2 separate regions of the Homo sapiens genome follow, and region 2 is linked to region 1. The links are contacts of gene promoters, found by promoter capture Hi-C in blood cells and fetal thymus (Javierre and others, 2016). All regions are on one chromosome and are shown on one strand. The core of a region is centred on a gene start or on the middle of the fragment in contact, and the rest is flanking DNA. Distances in the headings are between cores, read along the strand shown.

The links. Contacts are between HindIII fragments. The CHiCAGO score rates a contact against its expected background, and 5 or more counts as called.
Region 2: a fragment that was not itself captured here is called in contact with the fragment with the promoter of LINC01565 in region 1 in 1 of 17 cell types (endothelial precursors); the score reaches 6.2 in endothelial precursors.

What each region holds. Positions count from the first base shown.
Region 1 is chr3:128,573,466-128,580,537 of GRCh38, forward strand. It overlaps LINC01565 (long intergenic non-protein coding RNA 1565), which reads right to left and starts at 2,621. Exons shown (of 3, transcript NR_125802.1): 1 at 2,350-2,621; 2 at 1,801-1,921; 3 at 1-838. The HindIII fragment of the contact is 3,021 bases long and covers 122-3,142 here.
Region 2 is chr3:128,404,593-128,411,135 of GRCh38, forward strand. It overlaps EEFSEC (eukaryotic elongation factor, selenocysteine-tRNA specific), which reads left to right. Exons shown (of 7, transcript NM_021937.5): 7 at 3,477-4,054. The coding sequence ends at 3,667. Among named protein-coding and RNA genes, the nearest start is that of DNAJB8-AS1, 56 kb to the right of the region's middle. RefSeq lists enhancers at 2,642-3,523, 4,705-5,353. The HindIII fragment of the contact is 784 bases long and covers 3,798-4,581 here.

The sequences.
Region 1 (7,072 bases), core at 1,371-3,870:
GAGCTCGTCATCTCTCTCTCTCTCTCTCACCATGTCAAATGGTAGTGGGTGGGTACAGGGCCCAAACTCGGTCCCCAGACCCCCGAGTGTCTCTGGTGCCAGAGACCCCACAATGCCTAGAAGCTTCCAACCACCCTGGCCCAGGGTGCCTAGGGGCTGAGAGTCTGGGGGTCCCTGGAGGCGGGAGACGCTGAGTCTAGGCAGGCTCGTGCTGGAAACCAGCTCACTGCAGCGGACCACTATCTGATGGAGCGCTTCCTTCATCAGTGCTAATATCCATGTAGCGAAACAATGAAAGGGTTTCCTATCAGTTCCAAATAGGACGTGAAAAACTCTCAGTGCTAAGAGTAGAGGATGCTAGAATAGGGCAATGGGAAACGCCTGAGTCACCGGAGGGCCTCTTTGATTCCGACAGCCCAATCACTGAAAAGGAAAAAGAGAGAGAGAGTGGTTCATTAATGATCCGAGGGAGGGGACAGGAAAGACAGGCCCTTCACAGGGGACCTCCCCAGAGAGCTGAGAGCGGGAGAAGCCCAGCAGTGGGGACACTACCCAGAGAAAGAAACAGAGCTGAGGCTCCACCCGTGCACCCGCCCCACCCAGCCACCCAGCACGTCCACGAGCCACGCGCCAAGGGCAGTTCTGGTTTCCACAGATAAGCATTTAAGGAAGAATGTTCAGGAGTCCTGCTGTATTCTTCACCAGACTTGTCTCAGAGCAGCTGCTCACCCAGGAGCTCCATGGCCACAGGGATGCCCAGGACAGGGACGACTGCTTGCCCACTGCCGTGCTCTGGGGCTCTGGGCAGTCCCTCGGCCTCACCCACTGCTCAGATTTTCTGCAGGAAAAATGGGAGAGCCACCCTTTCAAAGAGTGACCCGGGCCCGGTTCCTCCTCAAAGCCTTTCGGAATGAATCTCCCAGTTCCCCACTGACTGGACATAGAACCTCTGCTCTTTCCTTCTCTAAGGCTGTGCTAGTCCATTATTCATTAAAAGACAAAATGAGGCCGGGTGCAGTGGATCACGCCTGTAATCCCAGCACTTTGGGAGGCCAAGGCGGGCGGATCATGAGGTCAGGAGATCGAGAACATCCTGGCTAACACGGTGAAACCCCATCTCTACTAAAAATACAAAAACAAAATTAGCCGGCTGTGGTGGCGGGTGCCTGTAGTCCCAGCTACTCAGGAGGCTGAGGCAGGAGAATGGCGTGAACCCGGGAGGTGGAGCTTGCAGTGAGCCGAGATCGTGCCACTGCACTCCAGCCTGGGCGACAGAGAGAGACTCTGTCTCAAAAAAAAAAAGACAAAATAATTGTCTTTTAATGACTTTAAAAGACATTGAGGTGGGTGTGGGGCTCATGCCTGTAATCCCAGCAATTTGGGACGCCGAGGTGGGAGGATCACTTGAGCCCAGGAGTTTCAGACCAGCCCAGGCAACGTAGCAAGACCCCATCTCTACAAAAATGTTTAAAACCTAACCAGGAATGGCAGTGCATGCCTGTAGTCCCAGCTACTCAGGAGGCTGAGGTGGGAGGATTGCTTTAGCCCAGGAGGTTGAGGCTGCAGTGAGCTATGATAGCACCACTGCACTCCAATCGGAGTGGCAGAGTGAGACCCCAACTCAAAATAAAATTAAAAGACAAGAGGCCAGGCGCAGTGGCTCATGCCTGTAATCCCAGCACTTTAGGAGACTGAGGTGAGCAGATCGTGAGGTCAGTAGTTCAAGACCCGCCTGGCCAACATGGTGAAACCCCATCTCTACTAAAAATACAAAAATTAGCTGGGCATGGAGGCGCATACCTGTAATCCCAGCTACTCAGGAGGCTGAGGCAGGAGAATTGCTTGAACCGGGAGGCAGAGGTTTCAGTGAGCCAAGATCATGCCACTGCATTCCAGCCTGGGTGACAGAGCAAGACTCCATCTCAAAAAAAATTAAAAGACAAAATGTGGACACACACATGGCCCCAGCAAGCAAGATTGATTACTAACTTCGTGGTGGCGTGCACATGCACACGATGTTCCACAAGCTCATCATCTATTCGAGTCGAGAGTATTCAGTTATCAGCCTCAGAAATCCAGAAGGAACCTCACATCCCAGGAGCCTCTGGCATTTCAGGGCCTTTCACTCCAAGGAGCCGCCTCCACCGGGCCTTCCCCAGCAGGATGTATATGGCCCTGTCTGTGTGCTAGGAGGAGAAGGGCAGGCCCGTGTGCTGTCTGGTGCTAGGTGTGAGACCACAGCCTTTCTGGAAAGGCTTTGTACTGTGCTGCTGGTGTGCAGACCCCGTGCGTGGTAGGGGCTTCAAGAATACGCATCAAATGAACCCGAACCCAAGGACGCTTGCTCACCTGTGTCATCTGGGGGTCTCCTTCCACAGGAAGCACATCTGGGCAGAGTGAAGGCTCCCAGGGCTCAGGTCCAGAAAGAGCTGGAGGCTCCTGAGAGCAAGGGGCCCTACTCGGCCATGAGCCCAGAACAATGCGAGCTTCACACACCGCAGGTGTGTGCGTGTGGGAGCCTCTTCCTGAAGCCTTGGGGTCAGGGGCCGGGGCCCAGCAGGCTGGGTTTATTGTCCATTGTCTCAGGCCGGGACAGGAAGCACTTTCTGTTCCCAATTGCTCGGGTGGATTAATTTACAGTGGGGAGCTCAGAGTCGCCCACGGCACCTGTTTTCCCCTCTGAGGGGCCAGCTTCCAGCTTGGAGGGTGTTTCAGGAGGGGTCTCCTCTGCAGAGACGTGGCCTCCTCCAGAGACCCTTGGCCACAGCCCCTGCCCGCTCCGTGCTGGGCCGAGGCCAAGGCCCTGGCAGCCCTGCCTGCTTGCCCGGGTCACGCTGCCCACCCACGGGGAAAGCTGAGCCCTGTGGAGTGCACACCATGCTGTCAGCAGTGAGCCATGGTGAGGCAGCCTCAGCAATGTGTCTTCTCTTTGGTTGGGAATCCGCTCTCTCTTCCAGGTTCAGGGGCAGGTGATGTATGCTTGTTTTCATTTGGTGAAGATCGTGAGTCCCATTTTACAGATAAGGACGCTGAGGCTCAGCAAGGTTGACTACACAGGTCGCGAATGAAGTGGTGGGATGCAAACCCGAGTCTGCTCCAGGTCCCAGAGCTCTCAACCTCAAATGTCTCAGGAGCCAACGAAAGCTTGTGACTGAGTGTCACCAGCTGGTGTACAAAGGGGGAGTGGCAGGAGGTGGAGGAGAACCCAGGGGTGCAGGCAGGGGGGACCCTGTGCCATCTCCAAGGGCAGCACTGCTCTACCCAGCCTGCCATGCCTTGAAGTAAGGTGGACCTTGTGTGGCCACATTTTTCCTTGTTAGTAACTCAGAAGATACATTTCTAGACACGGGGTAGGTCACAAAAGCCTGTCTGCAGGCGGCACATTGCTTTCCACCTCTGCTCTGTGCCACCATGCCAACACCAACAGTGAGCACCTGCTATATGCAGGTGCTGCCCGGGCACCTCCACAACGGGGACCCATCCTGTGTCTTCAGGCCCCCCCAGGCAGCAGGCACTGTGCTTCCTGTGGACACACAGGGGACTGAGGCTCAAAAGAGCAGGCTCCTGACCCTGGGCACCAGGCTGGTCTCGGCTTGCTCACTCCACCCCTGCATCCCTGCATCGGTTTTTCATCACCACTAATGCAGGAGGCTGAGGAAGAATTCTGGAGTCTGGTGGAGGATGGGGAAGCTGACCCTATTTCTATAGGTACCTCCCTCATTTTTGTAGGATGGCTCCAAGTCAGCCACCGAGACTGCCCCCTCTGCACTAACCATTAGCCAGCACTACCAGGATTGGCCAGCTTGCTCTGTGCCACTTGTTTTATTTATTTGTTTGCTGGAGACAGGGTCTCGCTCTGTCACCCAGGCTGGAGTGCAGAGGTGCAATCATAGCTCACTGCAGCTTCCACCTCCTGGGCTCAAGTGACCCTCCCACCTCAGCCTCCTGAGTAGCTGGGACTATAGGTGGGCGCCACCACATCCAGCTTTTTTTTTTTATTTTTTGCAGAGACAGGGTCTCGCCATGTTGCCCAGGCTAGTCTTGAACTTCTGGCCTCAAGCCATCCTCCTGCCTCAGCCCCCCAAAGTGCTGGGATTACAGATGTGAGCCACTGCACCTGGCCTATGCCACTTGTGTACTCCACCAAAATAAGCTTGATTCCCTGACTTCGGTGGCTTAAGATGGCTGAGCTCTCACCCTCTCTGCCCAGGCCCCTGCCCACCTGCCCTCTGCCCCAACAGCCACCTCTGCTAGGCTGCTTCCTCCTACTCAGGCAGGGTGGATGGTTCATTGTGTGGCCCCGGATCCAGGTTCCCCCACTGCCTCCCTGAGTGACAGGGCTGCCCTTTGTGGAGGGGGAGATTAGAGGCGGGCTGGAGGCTGCGCAGCCCTCCCTGGATGACAGGAGACATCAGCCCCGCACACCGCAAGGGCCTGGAGCGAGGAAAGCCTTGACAGGCCTGGAGGGGATCCAAGAGGGGAGCCAAGGAGGGGGCAGGCTCCTCACACACAAAGGCCGGGCCTGTCTTCACACCTGCGGGGATGAACAGAGCCCAGGGCCGGGAGAGGTGGGGGCTGTGGGGGGATGAATAATTCGCTCTGAAAGAAGCATGTCACAGGGAGATAGCTCAGCCAGACACTTCAAATAAAGGCAAGCAGCCGTGGTGACAGGGGACATTCTTTGCCACCGATGCACCGCTGGGACCTAAGAGCTGAGATGTTGTGAAAGAAAGGCGCCTTGAACCCTTCATAGTTATTTTTATTTTAAAAAAAGAGAGAGAGAGAGGGAAAATAACACCACAGAAGCAAGGATGGGCCTCGCAACGCGGAGAAAGGCCAGATAATGAGTTCTGGCACCTTAATTTCACTTTTGTCAGAAAGAACGGTGCTTCCTGGGCACACCTGAAGAACCAGGTCTGCTCATTCTTCCTGTCTCGGCATCTCTGGCCACCCTGTTCCCTGACCCAGGGCACCTCCACCCCACCACCCCTCCCTCCACAGACTCCTCCCCAGGGTTCCAGAGCCAGCACCGAAGGCCTCTCCTGCCATGAGGCCCACCCCAGCAAACACCTGGGTTCATGCCCCTCCTCCCAGGCGACCTCACTCAGTCCTCAGGCGGTGACCTCACCTTTTGACATACTTCTCCCCACCACTCAGCCAAGCCCTCAGGAGCGGGCAATCCCATCCCGTTCTGTCCCACACCCCTCAGTAGAGCACACTGTCCTGTACACAGCGGCCACGCACTACATGTCATTGATGAGAACAATCACAGTGGCTTCTTTTTTCTTGGGAAAATAAGACAATGAAGCTACAAATACTAGTATTCTCATGGAAAAAAATGATGCCCTCAGTGTCCACTCACAGAGGAATACCTAAATAAGTTAAGACTGAACCCAGCATGGGGCCATCTGGAGCCACACAAAAGAATGAGGCTGATCTAGATATGTTCATGTGTGTGGACATCACGGACTTCAGTGGGGACAGCTGCAGGATGGCACATATATACGCATATACACAAACATGGATATATATATATATATATAGCACAGAAAAAGGTCTGGAGGATTCCCCCAAAACCATGAACCGTGGCTACCTCTGCAGTGTCAGGATTTAGTGAGACAAGGGGAGGTGAGGGAACTGCACTTATTATACATACTTCGGTATTATTTTAACTTTTTACATTGAGTACGTATTGCTTTTGTAATTGAAGAATATATATATATATATATATTCTTGGCTGGCTGTGGTGGATCACACCTGTAATCTCAGTGCTTTGGGAGGCTGAGCAAGAGGATTGCTTGAGGCCGGGTGCGGTGGCTCATGCCTGTAATCCCAACACTTTGGGAGGCCGAGGCAGGTGAATCACCTGAGGTCAGGAGTTCGAGACCAGCCTGGCCAACATGGTAAAATCCTGTCTCTACTAAAAATACAAAAATAGCTGGGCATGGTGGCAGTCGCCTGTAATCCCAGCTACTCGAGAGTCTGAGGCAAGACTCAACCCTGGAGGCGGAAGTTGCAGTGAGCCGAGATCATGCCATTGGACTCCAGCCTGGGCAACAAGAGCGAAACTCCATCTCAAAAAAAAGAGGATTGCTTAAGCCCAGGAGTTCAAGGCTGCAGTGAGCTATGATAGCACCACTGCCCTCCAGCCTGAGCTACAGAGCAAGTCTTTCTCTCTCTGCATATATATATGTGTGTGTGTGTTGCATATATGTATATATATATGAGAGAGAGAGTTGCATATATAGGTTTAGTTCTTGCTAAACCACACCAATTAAGAATTAAGAATACATACATAGATGTGTGTATATATGTATATGTTGTGTATATCTATTATATATCTACATCTCTATCTCTCTCTATAGATAGGTAGATAGATAGATAGATAGATAGATAGATAGATAGATAGATAGATAGATAGGTGTGGTTTAGCAAGAACTAAACCTTTTCCTAAGCTGGGACTCCGAGGCATGGCTTTGGTCCAGGAGGAAAGAAGCAGCATTGGTGAACCCAACTCAAGTGCTCAAGGACAAGAGGGGAAGGCTTGGCCCAGGCCTCAGCTACCATCCTGCTTTCCAAGGACAGCAAAAGTTCTGCCTGGATTCCTCCAAGCTGGCTTCTGCTTGTGCCTCATTGGCCAGAACAGGGTCACATGACCAACCTAGCTGCAAGGGAGGCTGGGAAGCAAGCAGGTTGTCCTGCCAGGCTTAGACCAGGCTGACTCTGACCCAAAGGACCTCCCACCTGCTTAAATTTCCTCTTGCTTTGGGTCTACTGCCAGTTTTTCTCTTCTCTTGAAACAAGAGAACTCTCTCCAAAGGCAAACCCCGTTTCTGTTCATGGAAACTCTCTCCAGCTACACCCTGGGAACGAGTTTCTGTTGGCATTATTCAGGAATATTTCTCTGTGTGTGTGTGTGTGTGTGTGTGTGTGTGTGTGTGTGTGTGTGTGTGTGTGTGTGGTTTAATTTCCTCTGGACACATCAAAATTCTCTGCATTTCATTATCACCACCTGCCACCAGGAGGGGACAGGCTGCCTGAGAATGGAGCCAACAGGAAAGAATTCAGAAGG
Region 2 (6,543 bases), core at 2,940-5,439, 170 kb before region 1:
GCTCTGATTCAGGGAGTCAGATACCTACAGGCCAGGCGCTCACTTGAGGGGACTGGCCAGGGTCCTCCCCATGCCCACACTCTGTGCCCCATCCCAAGCGGGGGGCAGACCACCTAGGTATGGAACCTGCAGAGCAGACACCGCTCAGGCTCCAAGTAAGGTATGCTGCTCACAGGGAGCGCTTCCTTAATGCAGGTCCCCAAGGCCATAGTGTCACATGTCCCTCAGGCAGGCGTGCAAGGGCCTGGCTTCTGGAGCCCCGTTCATATCAGCTGCATGTCCTCAGTCTTCCCAGGGGACTCAGGCTTTAGATGGCCAGTAATCTCACTTCCGCCTGCCAGAGGGAGACCGGACCCTTTGTGCAGTGGGGCAGGCTGTCCCTGGCTGACTCTACAGATGGCCTCTTTATCCAGCACCCTTGTCACTTTTTTTTTTTTTTTTTAAGACTGAGTCTCGCTCTGTTGCCCAGGCTGGAGTGCAGTAGCGCAATCTCGGCTCACTGCAAGCTCCACCTCCCTGGTTCATGCCATTCTCCTACTTCAGCCTCTCGAGTAGCTGGGACTATAGGTGCCCGCCACCACGCCCGGCTAATTTTTTGTATTTTTAATGGAGACGGGGTTTCACCGTGTTAGCCAGGATGATCTTGATCTCCTGACCTCATGATCCACCCACCTCGGCCTCCCAAAGTGCTAGGATTCCAGGCATGAGCCCTTGTCACCTTTTTAAACATCTAGAGCTGCAGGGCCAGTGCACGATGCTCTCACAGCCTTGAGAACCATTGTCAGAAGCCCTCTGAAAGGGGTATCCCCCACCCATCACTCTGAGTGGAGAGCAGAAGCTGGCTTTGCCATTGGGTAAGGGCTGTAGCTCAAATCCTGGCTCTTCTGAACTCACTGTGGGGCTTCCAGTAAGTCACTGGCCTCTTAGACCTTCATTTTCTCATCCGTATAAAGAAGGGGTGGCCAACATCTTCAGGAAACTGAGCCAGAAATAACCCACACAGCCCCGCCAGCCAGCGCTCCCAGTCTGAGACGACAGGCCAGGGCCCTCCGGACTGAAGCTTGATGTGCGAGCCTTATAGCTGCCTTGACTTTTCAGGGACGAAGCTAGTACTGGGCAGGACTGGGAAAAGGGAGGAAAATTCTTCAGGTGCCAGCAGGTGCAGTGGCACAGGTGCCAACGGCACATAGGAAGCTGGGCCCTCTGCCTGTGCCTCTGCCCAGCTTCCTCCCTGCTCTGGTCCTCTAGGTTCCCAGCCTGTACAGGCCCTTTGTGCACATGGGGAGGGGATCCTGGTGGGACACCTCCTTGGCAGGCAGGGTATGGGCTGCCTTCACCCCCACCTGCCCTCAGTGCCTTCATACCCAGCTGCCCCTAGCAGCAGTCTCAGGAGCCACCACCCACTGGGGCTCCCTGTCCCATGCCACTCTCACAGTGTCCCCATGAGCTTGCTCCCACCAGGACCCCCCAGTGGGGCTGTGAGGCTCACAGAGTGAGTGCTTACACTGAGGTGCTCTGCCAGGGGTGGAACTGCTCCGAGCCCTGGGCCCACCCACTCCCACAGATGCAGAGGAGCCTGCTAAGTGGTCTCACCCTGGCCAGTGGCCCACATGGAGGCTGCACCATGCTGCCACCAGGAGATTCCTCATGAATACAAGCCCCACAGCACAGAAAGACAAATGCTGATGATCTCACTTACATGTGGTATCTCAAAACCCAAACTCATAGAAGCAGAGGGTAGAAGGGTGGTTGTGGGAGCCTGGGGGTGCAGGCTGGGGTGGGAATGGGGAGATCTTGGTCAAAGGGTTCACAGTTTCAGTTAGACCAGAGAAATCGATTCAGGAGATCCGCTGTGCAGAATGGTGACTGTAATTAATAACAATGTGTAATATTCAATGAAATTTGCTAAGAGAATAGATTTTAAATGTTCTCATCACCAAAATAAGTATGTGAGGTGATGAATGTGTTAATTAGTCTGATTTAATCATTCCAAAATGTATACATATATTAAAACATCATGTTAGACTGGGCAACATGGCAAAACCCCATCTCCACAAAAAAATGCAAAAAATCAGCTAGGCATGGTGGCACGAGCCTGTGGTCCCCACTACTCAGGAGGCTGAGGTGGGAGGATCACTTGAGCCCAGGAGGCAGAGGTTGTAGTGAGCCAGGATTACACCACTGCACTCCAGCCTAGGCAACAGAGTGAGACCCTGTCACACACACACACACAACACACACACAAATATATATATATACACATATATATACATATATATACATACATATATATATATTACACTATAAATATACACAGTTTGTCATTTGTCAATTTAAAAATGAAAAAGACAAGCTCCAGAGAAAGGGCAGTTGCAGCAGCATGTTTAAGGATGAGTGGGACTTCTATTGCCTAGAATGGGAAGGGTGTTCCAGGCAGAGGGAACAACACGTGACAGGCTTGTATGTGCAATGAGGAGCCCAGGAATGGGCCATGATCAGCAGGGCTGCAGAGACGGTGCACAAAGGCAGAGAGTGGTGAAGATGGAGGTGTTGGAGTGGGTGCGTGTCGGGGCATCAGCAGAAAACAAATTTCCACTCAGGTGTTCAGCTGGAGGGAGTTGAACAAAAGGTCTTTAGTGAGGCGTGGGCTGGTTAAAGCAACTCATAGAGGTAGCTGGAAAGCGGTGGGGGCTGCACCCACCCAAGCCTGGGGGCGGGGCTGCGTATACCCCTGGCAGAGGATCCCGGGATGAGCCACTGACTCTGTGAGCCCCATGGCCCCACTGGGGTGTCCTGATGGGAGCAAGCTCTCAGGGCAGTGGCAAACTGAGCCGAGGGGGCACTGTGAGAATGGCGTGGGGCAGGGAGCCCCAGCGGGTGGTGGTTCCTGGGACTGCTACTGGGGCAGCTGGGTATGCAGCCTGCATATCCCACTGAGGGCAGGTGGGGGTGAAGGCAGCCCAGGTCCTGCCTGCCAAAGGGAGCCAGGGATACACACCCTGACTGCCCTCTCTTCCCACACTCTGGCCTGTTGGGGCTTCCACTGCTAAACCTGGTCGTGCTGTCTGCAGGGGTCAGCCTCCCAGGCACACAAGAGGGTGGAGAAGTGGAGAATGGGTCTCCAGAGGCAATCAGGGAGTACCCCACCCAGGGAGCCTCAGATGCCGAGTTTCCAGACGTGGACTTGGCATGAGTGCACTGGAAAGCAATGGACCACTCGGCACAGAGCAGCAGTCCCTCCAGGGCCTGAGCACGGGGGTGGTGAGCTGAGGCCCCAAGAGGCACAGTGCCCTGCTGTACACCTATCAGATGGGTGCCGGAGGGACCAAAATGTCAGAATGGACCACAGGCCTCAGGGCTGATTGGCTAGGGAGGGAGGCAGAAGAGGGGTGAGTCTAGGCAGCAGGTGCGCGGGCAGGGAGCCCACGGGTGCTTGGGGTACGGCAGAGTGACAGGCTCTCTTCTGTGCCTTGCAGGTGGCCTCAGCCCCGAGTCCAAGAAGATCCTGACACCCGCCCTCAAGAAGCGGGCCCGGGCTGGCCGTGGGGAGGCCACCAGGCAGGAGGAGAGCGCCGAGCGGAGCGAGCCCTCACAGCATGTGGTGCTCAGCCTGACTTTCAAGCGTTATGTCTTCGACACCCACAAGCGCATGGTTCAGTCTCCCTGAGTGTCCGGTGACCTCCCCCAGGGCCTCCTTGCCCAGCCCAGTCCAGGCTGCTGTGCCAAATCCCAACCAGCCACGCCTCAGCCTCTCCCAGTCTCTCCCTGCAGTCCTGCAGCAGCAGCCCCCACCCCCAAGCTTGGTGCTGAGCCCTGGTGAGGAGCTGAGGGGGATGGGTTGCTGGGGCCAGGAGGGTCTCTCCTCCAGCCCCTGCACACTCCCACCCAGGACAGCCCCCAGCCCAACTAGGAAAGGGCCATGGGCAGAGGGCTGGTAGCCAGTATCTTCCACTGCCCCATCTGTTGGCCACCTGCAGGCCAGTCTCAACCCTCCCCCAGGTGGGCAGGCACTTGATGGCTACAAATAAATGTCCCGTGGCCCCAGCCCACTCTACTGGTGTCTCTCTCTCTGTGACTTCACTAGGTCCGCCGCCCTCCCCAGCTGTGTTCCAAGGGGAATCTCAGAAATCCCAAGAGTTCCTGCCCAGGTCGGGGCCAGGGAAGGGACCCAAACTCAGAGTCTGTAGGCTGTGGGAGTCTGCAGAGTGTCTGCGCTTCTCAACCCCACTAGGTGGCTCCTGGGGCGCTCTGGGCCTTCAGGGAGAATGGGGATTCTCTGGGCAGCTGGGTCCAGGGAAGGTACCCACAGGGAAGTTGGGGAATAGCAGGGTGCCTGGCCAGAGCATCAGGCAGAGCAGGTGGAGGCTTGTTCCTCCACCCCAACACGAGGAGTCCCTCAGCCCCTGCCCTCAAGTTTGAGAACCACATACTTCCCAGAAAGTGGAGGCTAGCATGGTGAGGGCACCCTGCAGAGCCATCTGCCATCCCCTGCACCCACAGACCACCCTGCCTTGTAGCCCCAGGCTGTGGGATACTCAGGAAGGGGTGAATGGTGGAGTCAACAGACTGAGGGGAAATCAAAGCTTTTAGAGACATTTGCAGGATGAACAGATGTTCAAACGTTCCTTTATTTGGTCTCCAGACAGACGCAGAGGCCTCCCTTTTATCCCAGTAATCGGTGCATTATGCTTTAATTTGCAAATGGCATTAAAAATATTAACAGGGGCAGGTTTCGATCAAATGACTTGGGCCTGTTAAGCCCCAGAGCCGTGTGTGTGTGTGTGTGTGTGTGTCCCGTGTGCACGTGGTGGGTGGGGAACAGGCAGTTAATTAAATACACCAACAGCAGAGCAAAGCCCCCGAGCTGCAAGGATACCAGCGATGGCGACTGGCCCAGCCACCCTTCGTCAACCTTGGCCCAGACCCAGGCAGCAGGGCTGGAGCAGCAGTCAAGGGCAACAGCTGAGAGCCATGGGGAAGTGGGGTTCCCAGTTCAGTCCCCTGAGGGGATTGGCCCTGGAGGAACGTGAGAGAGAGTGTGGCCCCGGTGAGCGTGGCCTCCGCGGCTGCTGCAGGCTGCGGGTGCCAGGGCGGCTTGTCTGCACTGTGAATCAGGACAGCCCTCTGCCTAGGAGCCGACTCCCCCTCTACTGCCGCTGCCTGAGCAGACACTTCCTGGGACTGCAGTGGCCCCTCTCCCTGGGGCCTGACCCCACTGTGTGCTGTGCCCCGACCCCACTGTGTGCTGTGCCCCACGGCCTCCTCACCCTACCTGGCCCTGCAGACTGTTTCACCAGGAAGGCAGTGCCACTTCACTGAGGCCACTCCGCCCAGGAAACTGGCAGCAGCTTTGAGCCCACACCAGGCTCCCTGCTAGCCTGCTGGTCCCCCAGGGGAGGGCAGCCCAAGAAGGGAGCAGACCTCCAGGAGGGCTTCAGTCAGCACCGAGCTGGGCTCACAGCCCCCAGCCTGTCAGTCCCTGGGGGCAGGAGAGGCCCCTCTGAGCACTTGCCAGTGCTGTCCAGGCTGGTCACCTCCCAGCACAGATCTGGGAGCTGCTGGTGAGGGCCAGCACTGGGTCCGAACCCAGCTCCAAGGACTCACTTCTTAGGCGAGGAAACCTCCCTCCTCCTCAGTGTGGGGCTGAGCTGGGAGCCAGGCCACACCCTCCCTGACCGCTCCCTCCCCAGCCCCCTCAGAGTCCCTGCACATTGGGACAGAAAGCTCTGAGCTCAGCCCCAGGTCCTGGCCTGCATGGGCAGGGTGACCTTGGGTGTGTCACTGTCCCTTTCTAAATGAGGGGTGATGTGACCCAGTGGAACCACTGTGCCAAGCATGGGGTTCCATGGAAGCTGTCCATGGGAGCTTCCATGGGAGCCATGGGAGCTGGCTCTGGGGCCAGATCAGGTGTGGAGGAAAGATGAGCACACAGGGCGAATGTGGCTGCCGCCACCAGGGCACAGATTCAGGCCTCTCCCTGCCTGCGGTGTGAGCTTGGGCAAGTTCCCTAACCTCATGCCTCAGTGTCCCCATGTATAAAATGGAAGAAGAAAAGCAGCCATGCCAGAGGGCTGCCCTGGGGGTGGGAGACTTGCCAGGCACACTGCTGACCCCACATTACCTGCGGCCCTAGGGTGGGCCCCACACATCTCCCACTGAGAGGCAAAAGGCCCAGAACCCCTCAGGAAGTGACACCAGCCCCAAATAAGCCGTTTTTCCAGGAACTCTGTGCAGGCGTCCACCTCCACCCCACCTCTCACCTCCCTACTGGTCTGAAGACCGTGCTCCTCAAAGTCCCGGGAAGGAGGGGGCTCGGGTGGAGGAACTGAGGCACAGAGGCACAGAAGGGAGGAGGGGCAGCCCAGGGCGACTCCCAGGAGCCTCTGAGCGCCCTGAGTGTGTAATGAGGCGGACCTGCTCTGTGTGGCCTGAAAACGCCCAGCCGACTGCCCCAGGAGAGGCCTCTATCAGGCCCGGCATCGGTGGAAACCCGAGCGTCCATTAGTGGGGTCGGGCCAGGGCGCGCAGCCTTTGAAGGTGCAG